Regions from separate parts of the Homo sapiens genome. Here regions 2 and 3 are each linked to region 1. The links are contacts of gene promoters, found by promoter capture Hi-C in blood cells and fetal thymus (Javierre and others, 2016). All regions are on one chromosome and are shown on one strand. The core of a region is centred on a gene start or on the middle of the fragment in contact, and the rest is flanking DNA. Distances in the headings are between cores, read along the strand shown.

The links. Contacts are between HindIII fragments. The CHiCAGO score rates a contact against its expected background, and 5 or more counts as called.
Region 2: a contact is called between a fragment that was not itself captured here and the fragment with the promoter of POU2F2 in region 1, in 1 of 17 cell types (fetal thymus). The highest score is 5.7, in fetal thymus.
Region 3: a fragment that was not itself captured here is called in contact with the fragment with the promoter of POU2F2 in region 1 in 1 of 17 cell types (neutrophils); the score reaches 5.4 in neutrophils.

The regions. Positions count from the first base shown.
Region 1 is chr19:42,131,046-42,133,745 of GRCh38, forward strand. It overlaps POU2F2 (POU class 2 homeobox 2), which reads right to left and starts at 1,401. Exons shown (of 15, transcript NM_001394376.1): 1 at 1,339-1,401. The coding sequence starts at 1,366. It overlaps LNROP (long non-coding regulator of POU2F2), which reads left to right and starts at 1,584. Exons shown (of 3, transcript NR_038332.1): 1 at 1,584-1,716; 2 at 1,860-1,983. It overlaps MIR4323 (microRNA 4323), which reads right to left and starts at 2,468; the gene lies at 2,400-2,468. RefSeq lists a silencer at 2,083-2,342 and an enhancer at 2,623-2,672. The HindIII fragment of the contact is 8,202 bases long and covers 1-1,927 here.
Region 2 is chr19:41,850,956-41,853,655 of GRCh38, forward strand. It overlaps DMRTC2 (DMRT like family C2), which reads left to right. Exons shown (of 9, transcript NM_001040283.3): 9 at 629-1,378. The coding sequence ends at 741. Among named protein-coding and RNA genes, the nearest start is that of DMRTC2, 7.3 kb to the left of the region's middle. The HindIII fragment of the contact is 1,104 bases long and covers 892-1,995 here.
Region 3 is chr19:42,561,966-42,564,665 of GRCh38, forward strand. All of the region lies in intron 2 of LIPE-AS1 (LIPE antisense RNA 1), which reads left to right. Among named protein-coding and RNA genes, the nearest start is that of CEACAM8, 32 kb to the right of the region's middle. The HindIII fragment of the contact is 9,698 bases long and covers 1-2,700 here.

The DNA.
Region 1 (2,700 bases), core at 151-2,650:
CTCTACCTTTGTCCCCCCATCCCACCCCGACACCTCTGCCTGTGCCCACCACCCCAGCCCTGACCCTTCTGCCTGGGCCTCCCCCATCCCAGCCCTGACCCCTCTGCCTGGGCCTCCCCCATCCCAGCCCTGATCCCTCTGCCTGGACCTCCCCCATCCCAGCCCTGACCTGTCTGTACTGTCATTGGTGACAGGTCTGTCTTCTCCAATAAACTGGGAGCTCCAGGAGGACAGACCTGAGCTACCCTTTCCACTGTACTTCCAACACCCAACACAGAACTACTCAATAGATACATGTTGGTGGAGGACACACGGGTGCCCGCACACAATGGCGCATATAGGACAGCACACACCACCAAACCAAGACTCATGCCCATGGTCATGCCTACACAGCCACAAATGAAACAGGCATGAAGGGCTGAGTGCTTGCCATGTTCCAGGCACTGTGCTAAGCATGCTACATGTATTACCTCATTTAAGACTCCCATCAACACTGCTGAGTGATAGCCATCACCATACAGACATATACACATTCTACTAAATGAGCCAACAGCTATAAATCACCTTGTACAGTGCCTGGTGCACAATGTTCACTCAGCCAACTGACATTTGGTGGAGAAGGCATTTAATAAGCACACAAACAAACACATAATGAAATTCCCAGCAGTGATACGTGCCGTGAAGAAAAGATAAAGCAGGGTGAGGGGACTGAGAGTGACAGGATCAGTGCCAGTTTAGATGGGGAGGTCAGGGAAGGCTGCCCTGAGGAGGTGACATCTGAGGTGAATGAAGTGAAGAAGGGAGCCAGGCAATCATCACCCCACAATGCCACACACAACAGCCCCCTACACTCACAAGCACACAGCAGTCCCACTCAGAGCACTCAGAACTACTGCACACACACATGCACACGCACACCTGTACCAGATGTGCACACACACACTCAAAAGGGAATGACATCCCCCAAGTCCAGCAACTTGGCATTCCAATCCCTTTGCAGCCCTTATCCAAGGATTGCCCATGTCACCCACCCCACTGGTTCTCCACATGAGGGCCCGCTACCAACACCCAGCTCCCTCCCTCCCGTCCCCAGACCCTTCGGAACAGGGCAACAGAGAAGAGAAGATGTTGGAAGTTCCGGTGCCTGATGTGGAAAGAGAGGGCAAAGAGGAGCTGTGGGGGTTAGCGGGGACCCGGCATGGGAGAGAGGGAGTTGCTAGAGTACAGAGGAGAAGGACAATGGAGACAGCTGAGGAGGAGGGGCAGGCAGGGCCCGCAGAGCAAACCTAAATGTGCTGCCTGTCCTCTGAGCAGTGGCACAGGCACCAGCCCCCTTACCTGGAGCCCCCATGCTGGAGTGAACCATGCTGCCCGCCCCGCCAGGGCTGGGGGAACAACTGTGTCATCTCCCCACCCTCTCTGGGGGCCGAGCCCTCCCTGCCGGAAGTCACTCAGGGAGGAAACCACAGGGCCGGTCCGCCCCCTTCAGAAGGGAAAATACCCTGGCCCACAGACCCGCCCCGGCAGCCCGGCCCACCCCAAATCATGTGTGTGTGCTGGGGGGTGGGGGCTAGTGGGGCAGAGGATAAGCAGGCTGGAAGAGCCGACTCCTACGGCTGCGATCCAAGAGGTGCCTGCAACAGTTGCCCCCCGACTTCTGTCGCCCCCATGGAGGCAAACAAGTCTGGAACAGGGAATGGGGGTCTGGGAGAGAAGGTGGGTCCACAGCAGTAACAACAATAAAACACTAGCCAGCAGCTTATTGGAGAGAGGGCTTTGCCGATGCCTGACCCTGTGCCTCACTCTTGACAGGTGCCATCTCCAATGTGGTGGTCACTCTTATTTGCCCCATTTTACAGATGAAAAGACTGAGGATCAGAGAGGTGAGCAGTAGCTTTCCCAAAGGCCCAGAGCCAAGAAGCGTTGAAGCTTAAAAGCACGCCGCGGCAGGGAAGATCAAGCAAGCCCTGCGCCTATCTGCAGGTGAGCTGTTGGGTGCCACCATTGGGAGGAAGTGGTGCCCGTGGGCAGTGGTAGTGGGGACGGTGGGTCGGGGACTTGGCCTGGGGCTACAATAAGTCGCCGGCCAAATGCGGGCGCCCGAGGCGGCTCCAGTGGAGGGGAGCACCAGGTCCCCGGGCTGCCGGCTGGCTCTTCGCGCTGCGGCGCTCCCATTTCAGCGCTTCCCTCCGTGCCCGCCAGAGGGCGGCAGCGCCCAGCCAATGGGCCGGAGGGCGGGGCCGGCTGCGGAGAAGGGAGCCCCTCCCTCCGCTCCCCTCCCCAACACCCTCCCAACACCTCCGCTCGCACACCTGCGAGGGTCACACAAAGGCGCAGGACTCCCGGCGCACCGCAGCTCAGACAAAGGCGCGCCCGAGTCCGCTGCCCTCTTCCTCTTGGTGCCCGAGGTCTGAGGCTGTGGGGCTGCCTGGCGTCTCCAGACACCCCACATGCCCGCCTGGGCCCCGCAGGACATCCTGCGCCCCGTGGCTGGGGGGCCCCCTAAACCACAGGTGCATGCACAGACGCCTGGACTCACCCTCACACACACAAGTATTTCTACAGATGAACCCCAGCACTTCACACACACACACGTGTGCACACACACGTGCATGAACACATCTATGTGCACAGGCCCCAACACCAGCCCTCCCTGCTGACGATGGTCACTCCCATATACTGATACCTCCTCTACTCCCT
Region 2 (2,700 bases), core at 194-2,693, 280 kb before region 1:
AGGGCATATAGTGAGACAGTGGCAGGGAACCCAATGCTCTGTCTCTGGACCCAGGCTGCCTGCTGAAGTCTGAAGTGGGGTCTGGCCTGGGAGGAGGTCTGATAAGTGCCTTCAAGGAGCTTACGTTCTAGTTAGGGAAATTGGATGCCTTCACAAGGCTCAGTGACAAACCTGAAGAAGATTGGAGGAACCTTGAAGAGTGAGAAACACCTAGGGGGACAGACAGGGAAAGCTGCGAATTCTCTTGTCCAAATAGTGGATTGGGCAGACTGGCCTGGAGGAAATGCTAGAACAGAGGGAAAGGAGGCTGGAGAGGCTTCTGATGGTGGAGATCTGGCATGCCAGGCTTAGGTGTCTAGAACAGCAACTGTATGTGAAGGGGAGCCAGGGAACGTTTCTGAACTAAGCAAGGACAAATTCAGAGACCCTGAGCTTTAGAAAGACAAGTGGGTGGCTTTGATGGACGGTTTGGAGGAGGCAAGACTGGAGGTGGGAAAATTAGCAAGGAGGTCTGTGAAATAATCCAGGAGAACAATGATGAGGCCTGGATTGGATTCGGTAAAAAGAGGGGGTTGCTAGAAGGAAAAACAGGTGTGACCTGATCCTGCCCCTTCCTTCTTGCCTGTAGCTCCTGCTGGAGGAAGAGGATTCCAGCCTGTTGGCCCCTGTCTTCGACCCAGCCCAGCCCCCTCTGTTGCTCTGCATATTGGCCGTCTGGGGTCCATCTCCCTCCTGAGCTAGAAACCCAGAGATGGAGGCTGTCTTGCTATGGCAGGGAGGTGACAGCCTGCTGGCACTGTATATTTAGTGTCTTACTTAAGGATTTATGCATGGAATTTAATGTAGTACAAGCTTCGGGCTTTTTTGTTTGTTTGTTTGTTTGTTTGTTTAAGCTTTCAGGTGCTTCATTAGCTTTCAGTTCCTTTGGTAGTGTGGGCATTTCCTTGGCTGACAGTGGATATTCTTGTACCCTTCTTGGGTCCTGGGATCTCTTGAAATCCCCAATAAAGAGAGAGTTGTGCTATTTAAGCTGACCAGTATCTATAAACGTGTTTGCATGAGTTTACATCCCAGGATTCCATGATTCTGTAAATGCCTATGCATTCATGTCTGTCTCCATGCATGTGAAAACAGGAGAGTGTTTTCATTTTGTGTCTAGGTTTGTGTGAGTAAGCAAGAAATAAACCTTTGTTGTTGTAAGCCACTGAGATTTGGAGAGTGTTACCACAGCCTAACCTAGTCTATCCTGACTGACAGAAAGGACTTGTTCATTTCGCTTCTCAAAGTGAAAAATCTGTTATCCAATAGCTACCATAGATGAAAACAAACTTGGATTTTTTTCTTTGTCCAAATAAAAAAAAATGATGTAAAGAAATAATGGGGGATTCACTGATTAATTGCCCGCTCTGTGCCAGGCATAGACAGTTTCCAGCTGTCTAGAGGGGCTACAAATCGAAATGCCTACAGGGCTGAGCAGATCAAATAAATGAGTAAAGAAGGCCAGATGGACCCTGGCAAACTGAGAATGGATGCCTTGCCTAAGGAGCAGCCTCCTTTTGGCCCTAGCAGATTACTGCCAGGCGGGAATGTGGACTCAGTGTTGCTCCATCTTCTGATTTTTTAAGAGAAACTGGAAAACTAGATTTCCATGTAAAACATCTTAATTTTCAAATGTTGGCTCAGTTTTCTTCTTTAAATTCTATACGTGCCAAATAAAACATATTTTCAGGCTAGCTTTGGCCAGTGGAATACCAATTTGATACATTTTCCAGATGGGGAAATTGAGGCTAACCAGAATAGAAAGAATCGAGTTAGTCTTTATCACAAGTTTTTCCTCAACTAGGGAGGTTCACGTGTCTGAGTTTCGAAGGATCCATAAAAGGTTAAGAAACATTTATTACCATTTATTGAGTGCCCACTCCATTTGATTCACATATCTTCACAGCAACCCTGGAAGTTATGCAGGATGGTTCCCATTTTACAAGTGAAGAAACAAGCTTAAAGAGGTAAAGTAACTTGCCCAAGTGTTTTAGGGGAAATTTCTAGGCAGAGATCAGAGGAGGGTTCCTTCTCTTTGCCAGGCTCCAAATTAGTTAATAATGTTTATAAAGCATTGGGCCGGGTGTGATAGCTCACACCTGTAATCCCAGCACTTTGGGAGGCCAAGGCAGGAGGATCGCTTGAGCCCAGGAGTTTGAGACCAGCCTGAGTAACACGGGGAGACCCTGTCTCTATAAAAACAAATAAATAAAAGCATAGAATGAAAGATGCACCACTCCTTTCCCCAATCAGGACTCCAGAAGATACATACAAGTCAAGAGTTTTTCAAAAAAGTCTTTTATTTTTCTCCTCAAGATATCATTAAGAATAAGATCTTACCTGCATTTGTTTCTCAGTCCTCTGGTGTCAAGTCCTTCTCCTTGAACCATTCCGTACATAGGAAAACCTGTTGAGCTATTCCAAAGACATGAAGCCTGGAGACCCCCTTCCCATTCCCACCCTTAGAAGGGGCTCAAGGGATGTGCTTGATCACTGATTCTTTTTCCTGATGTTACCTACACCCCTTGTTTTACTCAAGATGATTGATGGTGATGACATCCAATTACAACTTGTTATTTCTTATTTGGGATTTTGAGAGGGTGGGTTTCTTCTCCTCCCTAGCAGAGTACAGAGTAACAAACCTGCAGCACTTCTCAGGAG
Region 3 (2,700 bases), core at 126-2,625, 430 kb after region 1:
CCAGACTATGCTTTGAGAAGCAAGGTTTATTTGGACCCCTGTCCCTTAACAGGACAAATCACCCTCCCCAGCACTGATCTCTGCTGTGTCTTGGCCTTGGGTCTGTCAACACCACACAGAGAGTCCCTGGGGTCCCCGAACCTGGTTTGTTGTCTCTATGACAAAGAAATCCCTCGGTGTATTCAGGGTCTTCTTAGTGTTCTTAAATGTCTGGGAAGGTTGGATTTCCTCCCAGCAAGGAGGTCACAAAGATGTCTGGGGTCCTAGGAATGGACACATCTGGGGCTAAAGCCCAGGTCTAAGAGTCTTACTTGTTCTTTCTGCAGCGCTATGTGGCCCTAATTTCCTGGGAGTAACTGAGAATGAAGCTGCACGTTGCTGTAGTATTATGTCATCCAGACCTCAGACATTTCTAGATCACCTTTATGATTTTCTCTACAGCTTGTTCCACATTTATTATTTACTTCATACTATTTTTCTTTTTTTGAGATGGGATTTTGCTCTTGTTGCCCAGGCTGGAGTGCAATGGTGCGATCTGAGCTCAATGCGCAACCTCTGCCTCCCAGGTTCAAGCGATTCTCCTGCCTCAGCCTCCCGAGTAGCTGGGATTACAGGCATGCGACACCATACCCAGCTAATTTTTTGTATTTTTAGTAGAGACGGGGTTTCACTATGTTGGCCAGGCTGGTCTTGAACTCCTGACTTCAAGTGATCTGCCCACCTTGGCCTCCCAGAGTGCTGGGATTACAGACATGAGCCACCGTGGCCAGCCCATACTATTTTTTTCTAAATAAATTTAGTTTACAAAACATCTTTGTTTATCAGGGCACAGTGGCTCACACCTGTGATCCCAGCTACTCGAGTGGCTGAGGTGGAAGGATTGCTTGAGGCCAGGAGTTGGAGACAAAACATCCTTGTCTTATGCAGTATTGTCCATGAAATTACAGATTTGATGTGTGCTTAAATGTTTTTCTAACATGCATTAAAATAAACACATGAGTATTAAAATTAAAAAACAGCTTATTTAACTTTCACCTAAAATCAGTTTTGGGAAACGCTGATACAGTGGCATAAGCATGCACTTTATATCCAGATAGACCTGGGGTCAATTACTGGCTCCATCACTTAACTATGTCAACTTGGACACGTCACTTGGCTTCTGTGATCCTTGATTCCCTGATTTGTAAAAGGAGGATGGTAAAATCCACCTTGCAGAGTTGTTGGGAATAAGTGAGCTGCTGTGGGAGCCCCGTGCCCAGGCAGTTGTTGAGTACATGATGGTTATCATTGTGGTTATTGCTGTGGGATTCTGGTTATTTTCCAGAGAGAGTGTCTATGCTGGAATATTGGGCTTGTGGCTTTCTGGTAATGTACATGTGTGATAAGTTACTTTTTCGCTTGTTAGGACTTGTGGTGCATCTGTCATTATTTTCATGTCACAGTTTTACTATCTATTTGCTCTGCGATTTTGGTCAAGTTGTGTAACTTTTCTGTGCCTCATTTACCTAATTTCTAAAATGTGGGTAACAGTAAACTAGTGTGAGTGTGTATTTCCCAGATCTGACCACTAGAGAGCACAGAAGCACCAGCACCTTCTAACCGTGGGCCTATCAGTGCCGATGGCCTGCAAACATCGTTCTCCCATGAAAGGAACCAGGGCTCCCTGGAGAAATAGCTGATTCCAGGGCTGGGTCAGGAAAGCATAGAGGAACCTGGAGCTCCTTGTGGGGCCAGAAAATAAGGAACTGCACGAAAAATGGTGGGGATGTGTCAAAAGGTCACAGATTTCCAAGGAACTCTCAATGGTCAATTTTGGGACAATATGAACAACATAATAAATAATGATAGTAATGGATTCCAGTTCATAAATACCCATGAATCCATGCTGATATAAATAAATAATTGAATAAATTAAATAAATGAGGAAGCAGAAATAGCTTTTTCTTGTAGCAGAATTCCAGTTAATAAATGTAGAAGGAGTGGTGGAAATGGAAAATCACTATTTGGCTCACAACACAGGAATTGTTATTTATAGGCAAGGATCATCATGGAATATGAAGAGGCCTGGAATGAGGCAGGAGTGAGAACAGGTGGCGTGATTTTGTTTCCCTGAGAGGAGGGAAGAGGCAAGCCATGAGTCAAAGCCCTTTGATTTTTGTTTGACAGTTCTTCTCTCTGTGTTTTCAAATTATCCCAGCCTGTTGCCTTGTCACAGAGTTGGTTGTGGGCTTTGCTACTGCAGGGGTTATAAAGCACGTGCAGGGGCCAGGGACTGTGCTAGGCAGTGGAGCCTGTGTGTGAATTGAAGGGTCAGGCAGGGCCTAAGCGTGGTCTGATGCAAACCACTGATGTGACTTCTTTCTTGAAAATTCTAAAAATAATCTCTGCCTTCAGGAGCCTCAAGTCTAATGAGGGAGATGACATCCACTTTATAAAGCCTAGAGATATGAGTGCAGTAATCTCTCAAAGTGGCAGAAGTGCATGGGGGACTCCGAGTTGGGTGGAACTTGAGCTGGCCTCACAGGGCAGGGTAGGATTTGGGTTGGTGGAGGGCAGAGAGAACGGCTGTGTGGAGCAGGGGTGTGTTGTAGGAGAGGCACTCTTTGGAGCTCTTTGTATGGAGATCATTGAGGGTAGGGGCTGTTTGTGTTCATTTTTGTATTCCCTGAACTCATAGAGCCTGGCACTTTGGGAGTATTC